Linked DNA regions of Homo sapiens: region 2 is linked to region 1. The links are contacts of gene promoters, found by promoter capture Hi-C in blood cells and fetal thymus (Javierre and others, 2016). All regions are on one chromosome and are shown on one strand. Each heading gives the region's core, a stretch centred on a gene start or on the middle of the fragment in contact. The rest is flanking DNA. Distances are from core to core; before and after follow the strand shown. Region 1 holds the start of TMCC2 (transmembrane and coiled-coil domain family 2). Region 2 has its middle 5.0 kb from the start of TRK-TTT8-1.

Evidence for each region. Contacts are between HindIII fragments. The CHiCAGO score rates a contact against its expected background, and 5 or more counts as called.
Region 2: a fragment that was not itself captured here is called in contact with the fragment with the promoter of TMCC2 in region 1 in 1 of 17 cell types (naive B cells); the score reaches 5.3 in naive B cells.

What each region holds. Positions count from the first base shown.
Region 1 is chr1:205,223,552-205,229,279 of GRCh38, reverse strand. It overlaps TMCC2 (transmembrane and coiled-coil domain family 2), which reads right to left and starts at 1,334. Exons shown (of 5, transcript NM_014858.4): 1 at 509-1,334. The coding sequence starts at 715. RefSeq lists a silencer at 1,234-1,413 and an enhancer at 1,544-1,683. The HindIII fragment of the contact is 5,482 bases long and covers 1-4,377 here.
Region 2 is chr1:205,476,405-205,481,808 of GRCh38, reverse strand. No RefSeq gene overlaps it. Among named protein-coding and RNA genes, the nearest start is that of TRK-TTT8-1, 5.0 kb to the right of the region's middle. RefSeq lists an enhancer at 1-535 and a silencer at 711-770. The HindIII fragment of the contact is 1,242 bases long and covers 979-2,220 here.

The DNA.
Region 1 (5,728 bases), core at 85-2,584:
GAGGTGGAGGTTGCAGTGAGCCGAGATCGCGCCACTGCACTCCAGCCTGGGCGACAGAACGAGACTCCGTCTCACACACATACACACACACACACACACACACACACACACACACACACACACACAAAGATCCCAATGGGTAGAGACTTACTCAGCAAGGAAAACTAATGGTCACCTGCTGTCCACTTTTTGGTTAGCATCTTGGATTTCTCCAGCCCTTTGTCTGCGAATAACACTTCACACATTATTCAAACAATCTCGGATGGGTGAGTCACTAAAACGCTTGCTGAATAATGGGGAACAAACACAGAGACCTGACACGGAGCTGAAAGACAGAGGCATAAATGGTACCTGACGTCCCCCCTGGGGTGCCAGCAAAGCATCCGCTCATCCTCTCTGACCTTTGCCTGGCTTCCCCCCTCACTTTTATCCTGTTAAAGCACTTCTGCGTGGGGTGGCGAGAGCTAAGTCGCGGGCTGGGCTTGCCGGGGGGATGGTCTGCGCTCACCTTTAAATCAGGAGGCTTGCTTCGGGGACCTGGGTTGGGCGCCGCGGCAGCGCCGGCGTCTGAAGTTGGCCCGCCAGCAGAGTTAGCACCCGTGGTCTCCCCAGGCCGGAGGTCCGCGCCCGGCAGGTGGGAAGCGGCATCTTCCAGCCCAGCTCCATCCTCCTCGCCCTGTTGTTGCTGCAGCTCGTCCGATCTGCACCTCTTCATGGTGTATGTGGGTCGGCAAGGGGAATCTGTCCTTCCAGCGCGCCGTCTTGGGGAAGACCGCACCCCCTCTTATATTCATATGAGGCCTGGGGTCTAAATTATTAACAAGGAGGGGAGATGGCAGACCACAATTTCTTGAATTAAAAAAAAAATTCTTAAAGGCGGGTGAGGGAGGGGCGAGAAGGGGGAGCCTTGGTTATAGCTTGGAATAGTTCATTTCGACCTGGGGAGCGAAGACAGGTCACAGTCGAGGCTGGGCAGCAAGAGTCCTTGGGCAGTCATTGCAGGAGGGAGAAGGGAGACAACCCCCGGCCCCCAAACTTTCTGCTTCAGGGCATGGGCAGGACGGAGAGGAGCTGGGCGGCACAGCGCATCCCTCCCGGCCGGCCGGGCTGCGGGGCGAGGCGGGGCGCGGGGCAGCCGGCCGGGCAGGTCCTAGTCGGCCGCCATCGGCGCCGGCTGCAGCCCCCGGCCCTGCAACCGGCCCCTGCCCCGCATGGTCCGGCCGCGGAGCCCGCAGCGCGCCCGGCCCCCTCCCCGGCCCGCGCGCCCCGCTCCCCGCCTGACGCGCAGCCTGCCGCAAAGCCGCGACCGCGGCCCGAGCCCGCGGCGAGCGCGCAACCTACCCCGCCCGGCTGCCTCCGCCCGGGAGCGGGAAGGCGAGGCTAGGAGGGAGTGACAGCGGCAACCGGCCAATGGGAAGCCCGCGGGGCTGAGGGGGCGTCGCGCAGCTTCGTTTTTGGGGTTGGTTGCACCGTGCGATCCCCCAGGAGAGGGCTGGAGGACGATGCTGCTGCGTTTTTGCATTGCAGAGAGCGGGCTGCAGTTCAGGGGCGGGGGCGGCGGGCGTGGGAGTCGCAGTTTCGGCTCCAGCTTGAGGGACCCTGCCGAGGAGGGCTCGCCCAGGATTTCCTCCACCCATTCGCTTTATTTGGCGAGAAGGAGCACAAGAGGGATGTTTATTATCACTGCTTTTTGGGGCTCTTAACTTTGCACCTTCTAGCCATAAGGGAGACACCTATCCCCTCTAGGATACTTGGTCTGAGTTAAATCTATGCCTACATTCAGAGCTGCAAATGCCAAGGGGAGGGGGCGTTCTCTCCTCATCGCCCCGTCCCCCGCTTTAAGTGCATTATTTCTTAATGAGACTTTACTTGGCATAATTTATGCTCAGAAATTGGGAAGAATTTCATATAAAAACACAATAACGTATGTGAGAGTTCCTTACAAACTGTGAAGCAGCTTTTAAATAAGAAAGGGTATTAATGGCAGGAGGTTGCTACATATAGATGTGTGGAAAGGGAATGCTGTCTCTCTTTGCATAAATCTCAGCCAAACTGTGCTGAGTAATCTGGAAGCAGAAGAGAGCAAACGTTGGGGTTACCAAGATATGGAGAGTAGTAATAATAACAACCCCATCTGAGTGTCTATTGTATGCCTCCTGTGGACACAATGGATTTTACTCATCCAGCAACCAGTGGTTCACAAATTGTGATCCTTGGACTAGCAACTTCAGCATCACACGGGAACTTGATAGAAATGCAAATTCTTGGCCACCAGCCAGACCTAGAGAATCAGAAGTAGTGAGCCAAGAAATCTGTGTTTTGACAAGCCCTCCAGGTAATTCTGACACACACTACCCTTTGAGAACCACTGGCCTAGACAGTGAAGGGGCCACACGGTCTCTAAAGGATTTTACAGTTTACCAATCTCTTTCGCACCCATCATGCCATTGTAGCCTCACTTCAGTCTCACTAGTCGGAGTTTCTTGACTTTCTGTTCTGTCTTCTTCCCATTCCAACCACTCATTTTAATGTGTATCCTAGAAGAGACTAATTTGTTAAGAATTTACTTCAGCCAAGCAGCTACTTTCTAAACTAGGCAGCTCCACTTTTAGAAGATAGGAATTTAGGATGGGCTGGGAATGTGGAACCACCCCCCACATCTACCACAAAGAATCGAGCACAATGTGGAAACACAAAGCTATAAGCCTTTATTTAGCATTTTCAATGGTGAGGGGATGGCAGGATGCCAGTGTAGACCGTGGGCAGGACTAGACAGAACCGGTGGGGGCAGGTTCCCATGGTGCAAGGTTTCAAGCAGAGGAATATACTGCTCCCTGCCTGACTTGGCCCAGATAAGTGCAGCGGCCCCAAAGACCCTGAGCAAGTCTTGAGGGGCACGCGGTGGCCAGCAAATGGTGAGCATGCATTGACACATGTTCATGACCTGACTCGAAGCCGAAGGAAAGTGAAGGGATTTGGTTTAAGGAAGGGATTTGGTTTCGTTTAAGGAAGCAGAGAGCATTATAATTTTGAATTATGCCTCATTTCTATACTAGATAAAAGTTGGTCTTAAGTTTGATTTTTATATTATCATATACATACAGCATGACAGCCACATTTTCTACTTGTCGTCATATTTGCAAGGTGTGATTCAGGTCAGCAAAAAAGTCTGTGGTGTGTTTCATAAAATCAGCTAATACTTTACATTCCATTTTGGAGAGGCATCATAGCATAATGGTTAAGAGCTCAGGCTCTATGGCCAGATAGGGGACAAATCCTAGCTCTGCTCTTCACTGACCATGTGAGTGGGGACACGTTATCTAACCTCTTCATGCTCCAGTTTCTGAATTATTTGGAAGTAGGGATAATGACAGTACCTACCATACAGGGTGTTGGGTAATATATGTAAAGCACTTGGACATTGCCTAGCAAAGAATGAGGGCCATAGCTATAACCACAGATGTCATCCAGTTTCAGAAGTGTTGCACATTTCACTCCAATGCTTCTATCTTCAGGAGTTCAAATGTGTCCCACCAATTTCTGACTTTCACTGAGTGTCATATTATGGAATAAGTGTGCTACTGCCAAAGAAGTTTGGCTGAGAAGTCTGTGTAGAGACCTGAGTGACCTATAACCACCAGTTTGAAGCCAATGGCAAATTTTCATTAGCCGCAGCAAATTCTTGAGCACCTAAGAAAATCAGAACTTGAAAGTACTTTGGTTGGTTGAAATTTTGTTTACGGCATTAGATTATTCTATCATTCTACGTTTCTTTGGGAAAATATAGGCACAAATTATGTTTTGATATTCAAGATTAGACAAAAGTTTGCAGATACACAATGCAAGTGATTATATTTTCTATGTAGGAGTAGCATTTCCATTCTGTTTTGGCACACCTAGTTAATTACAAGGAAATAACATGATTTAGTGGGAAGAACATTGGTCTTGGTGTCAGAAAATTCATGTAAGCATTCTAGTTCGGTTACTTCTTGTGAGCTTAACCTCTTTCACCCTCGGTTTTCTCATCTATAAACCAGGGCTAATACTATCTATCTTCACTGGTTATTGTGAGGATGAAGGTAGATAATGCACGTGAAAATGCTTGACACATGGTATATGTGCAGTAAAACTAAGTGAAACAAAAATAATTAACTTGTCCAAGCCCCCCATATACCATATGAGAAAGAGAATTATCCCAATAAGCTGAATGCTTTTTGTGAACAGAAATCCCAGTTAAACTAATGAAAGGGAGCACTCTGGTAGTATCAAATTTGCTAAACCAATAAGTATACACACAAGGAGTATAAAGGGCAGAATTATGGAATCCTGCTCTCTTGTCAACACCCAGTTCATTTAGTTTGATAAATGGTTGAAGCTTTCATTATAGAGGATAAGGTGCCAAGATTAACAAAGTGTAGAGTAGGGTTTTGTTTTGTTTTCTTTCTTTTTGTAAAAGCAATTAGGTCTGAAAAATAAAAGGCTTCTCTTTTTGCCAATAGTAAGAAGCTTGCAGATTATCCAAGGCAATTCTATGTCCTATTCCATAGCAATACTTAAAAAAACATTTAAACATCAAATGGATAAGTGGTTGTCAGTGCGCTATTTTAAGATTTAACATACTGAGTAGAGTGATTCAAAGGTAAAAGTACTCTCTAGAGGGACTAGATATAATAATTTTGCTCACTGAATTTTGATACCAATATCATTGCATATACTCCTTTGTTAATGTAATTCTCTTCCCTTTTTGTTGGAGATGACCACTTCCACGCAGTGCACTCCTTAAAAGAAATTGAGTTCTGTTGGATTAGGAAGAGTAAACTATGCAAATAATCCTTAAGAAGATTGTCTGGATTGTTGATGTTGTCACAATCCCACCACCTAAATACAGGCTTTTTACTGGCTATTGTAAAAGGAAGAGAGGACCAGGAAGGCTCTATATCACTCCTGATTGGAGAAAGCTCTTATTAGCCTAAACTAAATTTTATCCTATTTTTTACTTGAAATGTACTCAGCAGCATTTTCAACATTATTACATTTTCCCATATTATTCCATATATTATTAGCCATATTCCATATGTTTAAGTAAACATTTTAAATGACTGCTTAATGTTCTGTCAACTGAAGATATCATGGTTTAACATACTATCCACTTCATCCTTTGACATAATTTTCTCTATTTTTTGCCTTTAGAAATAAAGCTGCCATTACTATATTTATGCAGAAATTGTATACATTATTTCATTCAAAACACAGAATCTCTGATACCAAACTGGCAATTTTTTTTTTTTTTTTTTTTTTGGAAATGGAGTCTCGCTCTGTCGCCCAGGCTGGAGAGCAGTGGCGTGATCTCGGCTCACTGCAACCTCTGCCTCCTGGGTTCAAGCAATTCTCCTGCCTCAGCCTCCCGAGTAGCTGGGATTACAGGCATCTGCCACCAAGCCTGACTAATTTTTTGCGGACTAATTTTTAGTAGAGACTAAAAATGTTTTTCCATGTTGGCCAGGGTGGTCTTGAATGCCTGATCTCAGGTGATCCGCCCACCTCGGCCTCCCAAAGTGCTGGGATTACAGGTGTGAGCCACGGCGCCTGGCCCAAACTGGCAATGTTTTAAAGGAGTAAGCAAACCCAGATTACTAACTTTGTGATCATTTCTCTCACAGCATCCCTAAGACTTACACAGGAGATTCCAATGTCTGTTTCATTCCTGGGGTGGGTGAATCTCCTATCT
Region 2 (5,404 bases), core at 350-2,849, 250 kb before region 1:
GCTCACTGTGGCTCTGTGGGCTTCCCCTCTCCTGATGGCAGAGAGGCCGCCCTGCAGGAAGGTGACACAGGGAGGTCGACAGCCCACATGTCCGGCTGCCAGGCTATGCTGTTGAGCCTGAGTATGACAGAGGAGATGCATGCAGTTGGGTAACATGCCCAAGGTCACACAGCAGCACAGTAGCAGGGCCAGGGTTAGCATCTAGATTCCTAACCTCTGGTGAGAGGTCTCTCCCAGGCACCCTGGGTCCCATCTCATCCCAAGCTCTGTCTGCCACAAATCCCCCTTCCTGATTCCCCTACACACCCAGTTCTTTCCCTGCCACAGCCCAGGTGGCTGCCCTCTAGGAACCCTGATGAGCAGACTTGCAACAGATCAGTGTGCAGGTCGGCACGGGATCTTCCTCAATTCGGTGTTGGTTCACTTAACGGGGATGGAGTCACAGGCTGTGGCCACACGACGTGGAGGGAGATCAAGTCCCCACTGCTGCCAGGGGAAAACAGACTAGAAAACTCCCATCCCAGCATCTGAGGACATTAAGGGCAGGCCGGAAATGGGAGCGGATCTGCGATGCCCACTCCACGGGAGGCGAACTGTTGCTTCAGGGAGGAGGCCCTGGTGCCACACAGGTGCAAGGACTTGGGAACCCAGAGGAAGCACTGGGGCTTTCCAGGAGTCTGGTGGCTCTAGAATGGAGGGAGGAGGGGGGTGAGGAAGATGGGGCTGGGGGAGGGGGCAGGGTGGGTGGGGAGAAGATGGGTTTGGTGTAGCAGCAGGGCTGTGGGGTTCTACTGACTGCTGTGCACCTCCACCTGGGCGTCCCGCAAATACTTCCAAGACAACACACCCCAACCTCAACTCAGCGTCACTCCGACAGCCTTTCTCCTGTGTTCGGTGGCCTGGCCGGTGGCGCACCCTCCCCCAAGCACCCAGCCAGAGATCGGAAAGCCCCTCTTCACACCTCCCTCTTCACAAGCTTTCATTTCCTGCCAGTCACACATTTTGCCAAGTTTACCTTCTTGGTTTTTCTCAAATTCATCCTGCCCTCTCCCACCGCTGCCTTGGACCTCTTCTCACCTGGCTGCAGCAACAGCCTCCTGGCTGCCCTCGCGCCTCACCCCTGAAACCCATCCTCCATGCGGCCTCCAGCCTCATCCCTCTTTCCCGTTCAAACTTCCAGGGTCTCCGCATCCCCTGGGAGAGCATTTTAGGCTCCTTAGTATGACCAAAAGGATGTCTATGGTTTGACTCCTGCTTGCCACAGCCGTGCAGTATGGTGGTTAGAAGCACAGATGCTGGAGCCGGATTTCCTGGGTTCAAATCCTATCTGTGGCTGGGCGCAGTGGCTCACACCTGTAATCCCTGCATTTTGGGAGGCCGAGGCAGGCAGATCACTTGAGGTCAGGAGTTCGAGATCAGCCTGGCCAACTTGGTAAAACTCCACCTCTACTAAAAATACAAAAAATTAGCCCAGTGTGGTGGTGCACGCCTGTAATCCTAGCTACTCTGGAGGCTGAGACAGGAGAATAGCTTGAACCCGGGAAGTGGAAGTTGCAAGAGCTGAGATCACACCACTGCACTCCAGCCTGGGTGACAGAGCAAGACTCTGTCTCAAAAAAAAAAAAAAAACCTACCTGTTACTTTCTAGCTGTGTGTCCGAGGCAAGTCACTGAACCTCTCTGTGCCAATGGTTTTCTCACCTATGAAATCGGTATTTTAAGAGTACCTGCCTCATAAACTTGTTGCGAGGATTGAATGAGTTTTTCTGTGTAGAAGCAGTTAGAACTGGAATTATTACCCCCCTACCCCTGCCAGCCTGGCTTCTTCTCCTGCCCCTCTCTGTCTCACACGTTTGTATCCACAGCTCAGCTTTTCTTGTAATTCTCTCTCTAGCAATTGTGCCATTTCTCAGCTCAGTGTCTGGGCCCCTCAAAGGGATAACTTCACCCTGCAGTCATCAGTCCACCCCCAAGAGCCACTGGTCTCCCCCGTGGCTTGGCTCTCCCTAGCACGTGGCTGCCTGCTTTCTTCTCTGTCTCCCCTGCTGCACTAGAGGTCCTTGAGGGCGGATCTGGGTTCCTGGTGCCTAAATCCTGCGTGGTACACAGGAGGCCCTTGATAAATATGTGTGGAACGAATGGTTGCAACATTGTTCCTGGAGAGTTCTCAGAACTCTCTGAGAGTTTGTAGTGAGGAGTGAGGGTGCTTATGAATGAAGCTTCACCCTGCCCCCCCACCCCCCACCACCCCACCCCCCTCCCCATCACCATGGTCCTGGGGATACATGTTAACATTCATGCCCTGCCCAGGTGTGATGGCTCATGGGGGAACTTGGAGACTTAGGAGATAGACAGGCAATGAAATAAGTGTGGTGATCAAGCAAGTATGGACTATAATGGAATGAATAAAATAAATGGTGGAGAGGCCTCATTGGGACCCCCAGGACTGCCCTCTGCTCATGTGGTGATATTGGCACCAAAGACAGGGTGTCTTAGCCAGGAGTAGCTCACTTCTGTCATCCCAGCACTTTGGGAGGGTAAGGTGGGAGGATTGCTTGAACCCAGAGTTCGAGACCAGCCTGGGCAACATAGCAAGACCCCACTTCTGCAAAAAATTAAAAAATTAGCCTGGCATGGTGGCACACACCTGTAGTCCCAGCTACTCGGGAGGCTGAGGTGGAAGGACAGCTTAAGCCCAGGAGTTTGAGGCTGCAGTGGGCCAAGACTGTGCCACTGCACTCCAGCCTGGGCAACAGAGCAAGACCCTGTCTCAAAAAAAATTTTTTTTTTTGAGACATGGTGTCTTGTGGTTACAGATTCTTGGCACCATGGCCCTCCTCCCTCCCTGCCCTCCCATGCCAAGGGCCAACATTGCTGCCCTTTAGTACCTGGAAGGGCTTCACACCATTAAGGGCTTAATATCATGAGGCCCCAAGGCCCCTGCCAGCTCACTGTGTTTAGAGCCATATTTAAATCAGTTCAATGCCTCTGGGAAGAGAAAGCCAGCTGCCCGGTGATCCCTCACTACCTCTCCAGGCAGCTCAGAGATGCCCTCTGAGCTTCTTCCTCCTGGGTTCATCTGGAAGCAATCTAACATTGTTTAAAAGCTAGCCTTGACAGGCAGATCAATTGAGGTCAGGAGTTTGAGACCAGCCTGGCCAACATGGAGAAACCCTGCCTCTACTGAAAAATACAATAATTAGCCGGGTGTGGTGGTGCATGCCTGTAATCCCAGCTACTCTGGAGGCTAAGGCACGAGAATCACTTGAACCCAGGAGGCGGAGGTTGCAGTGAGCCAAGATAGCACCACTGCACTCCAGCCTGGGTGATAGAGTGAGACTCAGTCTCAAATAAATAAATAGATAAATAAATAAAAGCTAGGCTCGAGCTGGACAGCTGGACAGCCTGGGTTTGAATCCTACCTCGACCCTGTAGTAGTTGGGTGGCCCTGGACAAATGTCCTCACCTCTCTGAGCCTCAGCTTCCGTATTTGTAATGAGACCTCCACCATGGAGCTGTGCAACTACATGACCTAATGTACATAAAGTGCTTACAGCAGTGCCTGCGTGTGATTAGCTCTGTTTTATGAACAATGCCCTTGCTTTTACTACATTGCGTTCTGTGTTACTTGCTCTGCTCTCCTGAGTCCTTGTGGGCAGTACCCTCTAGCTTCCTCATTCATCTTGGTATCCCCAGGGCCTGGCACAGTGCCTGGCTCAGAGCAAGGAGGCCAAAAATATTTGTGGAGTGACGTCTGACTTAACCGTCAGAATGAGCACTGGAATGGGCTGGAGCCAACAGCCAGTGCTGCCCACAGGTGGGCAGGGGCACGCTGCCTGGGGAGGGGTGTGAGGGAAGCGGGCCAGGACCAAGGGAGGCCCAGTCAGGGGATGCTTGGTGCTGCTTTTCCTGCTTGCAGATCCCAAGGCGCAGTGGCCATCTGCCGGGGGCGGGAAAGGCAGGCCCGTCCTCCGAAGCAGGTGCCCAGGCAGGTAGAGTCTGGAGCCAGCCTAGAGGATTTACAGTTCTGCCACTGAGCGCCTGGACCAGGGACAGCTAGAGGGAATCCACATGGCCCTGCAGAATGGAGGGGGCAGCTGGCCAGGCCAGGCCTGGGACAGAGGGCACCCCTGGAACTGCCAGGGTTTGAGGAAGGAGGGGCAGTCCTGATGGTTAACCCCTCAGGGGGAAGGGCAGAGGATGTACCCTGCTGGAAGGACTGAGAATGTCAGCAGACAGCCAGCCCTGTGCCTCACCACACTCCCAGGAGACCCGGGCCAAGGTGGGAAGGAGCCTGCTCTGAACCTTACGGGGCTGTGACAGTCCCAGGGCTCACACCCTGCTCACCAGTGTGCTCCTCACCCCACATACAGCTTCGCAGGCACACCTGGGGCCGCGGGGTCTTCATCCTTGGAGCTCAGCTAGGCCATAGCAGGTAGGGGTGGGGGATGGGGGCAGGGATCTGACAGTCTCACTCAGTTGAGGGGGATGTTGAGTCATAGATGTTGGGAAGCCCATTCTAATGGTGATGGGAGTGATCTAAGTCCCTCAAGGACTGGCTTTCTTGCTAACAGATGAGAAAGGGTCTGGCATGTTGGATCATGGGTGAGGGGTGTCCTCTGCTCTAAACCTGCTCAGGGTCGGGCTCCATTTTCTCTTCTCAGCCTTTGAACCCCAAAAGATGGGACTGGCCAACCAATGGACAGCTGAAGATGTCGGCCAAATCCCTGCGGGTGGGGACACCCTGCAGAGTGACAGTGACCTGCTGCAGGAACCCCATACCACACACATATAAACACACTACACGTATACACACACACACCACACATACACCACACACATATACACACACACATGCATATGTACAGCACACACCATATATATACCATACATACTACATACACACACTGTACACATACACACACACACCGCACAGCACACATATACACACACTACACATATATACACACACAGCATTCACACCACACATACTACACACACATCACACACACACACCCCCAACCCCATACACACCACACACATCCCTTTCCCTCCCTCACCATCTCACTAACACACATACACACCACTCTGCTCCTTTCACAAGCTAACAATTGCAACAGACATGCCTGCCGGACTTAATGTTTCCCGTAGGGAATGAGGTGGTGGTCAAGGCCTGGCTTGTGGGAATGGAGGTATGGTTCTATTAGCAGTTGTGTGTATGTGACATATTAAACCTGAGTTTGCTGTTGTTCAATATTCAGTCATTCAACATGTATTTCCACACTGATTAAACACTTACTATGTGCTAGGCACAATTCTAGGTTCTAGGGAATCCTAGTTGAGGTTTCCCAAGAAGTGAACCTTGAGACAAGGGCTTTAAAAAAATTAAAAAGCTTTATTGAGAT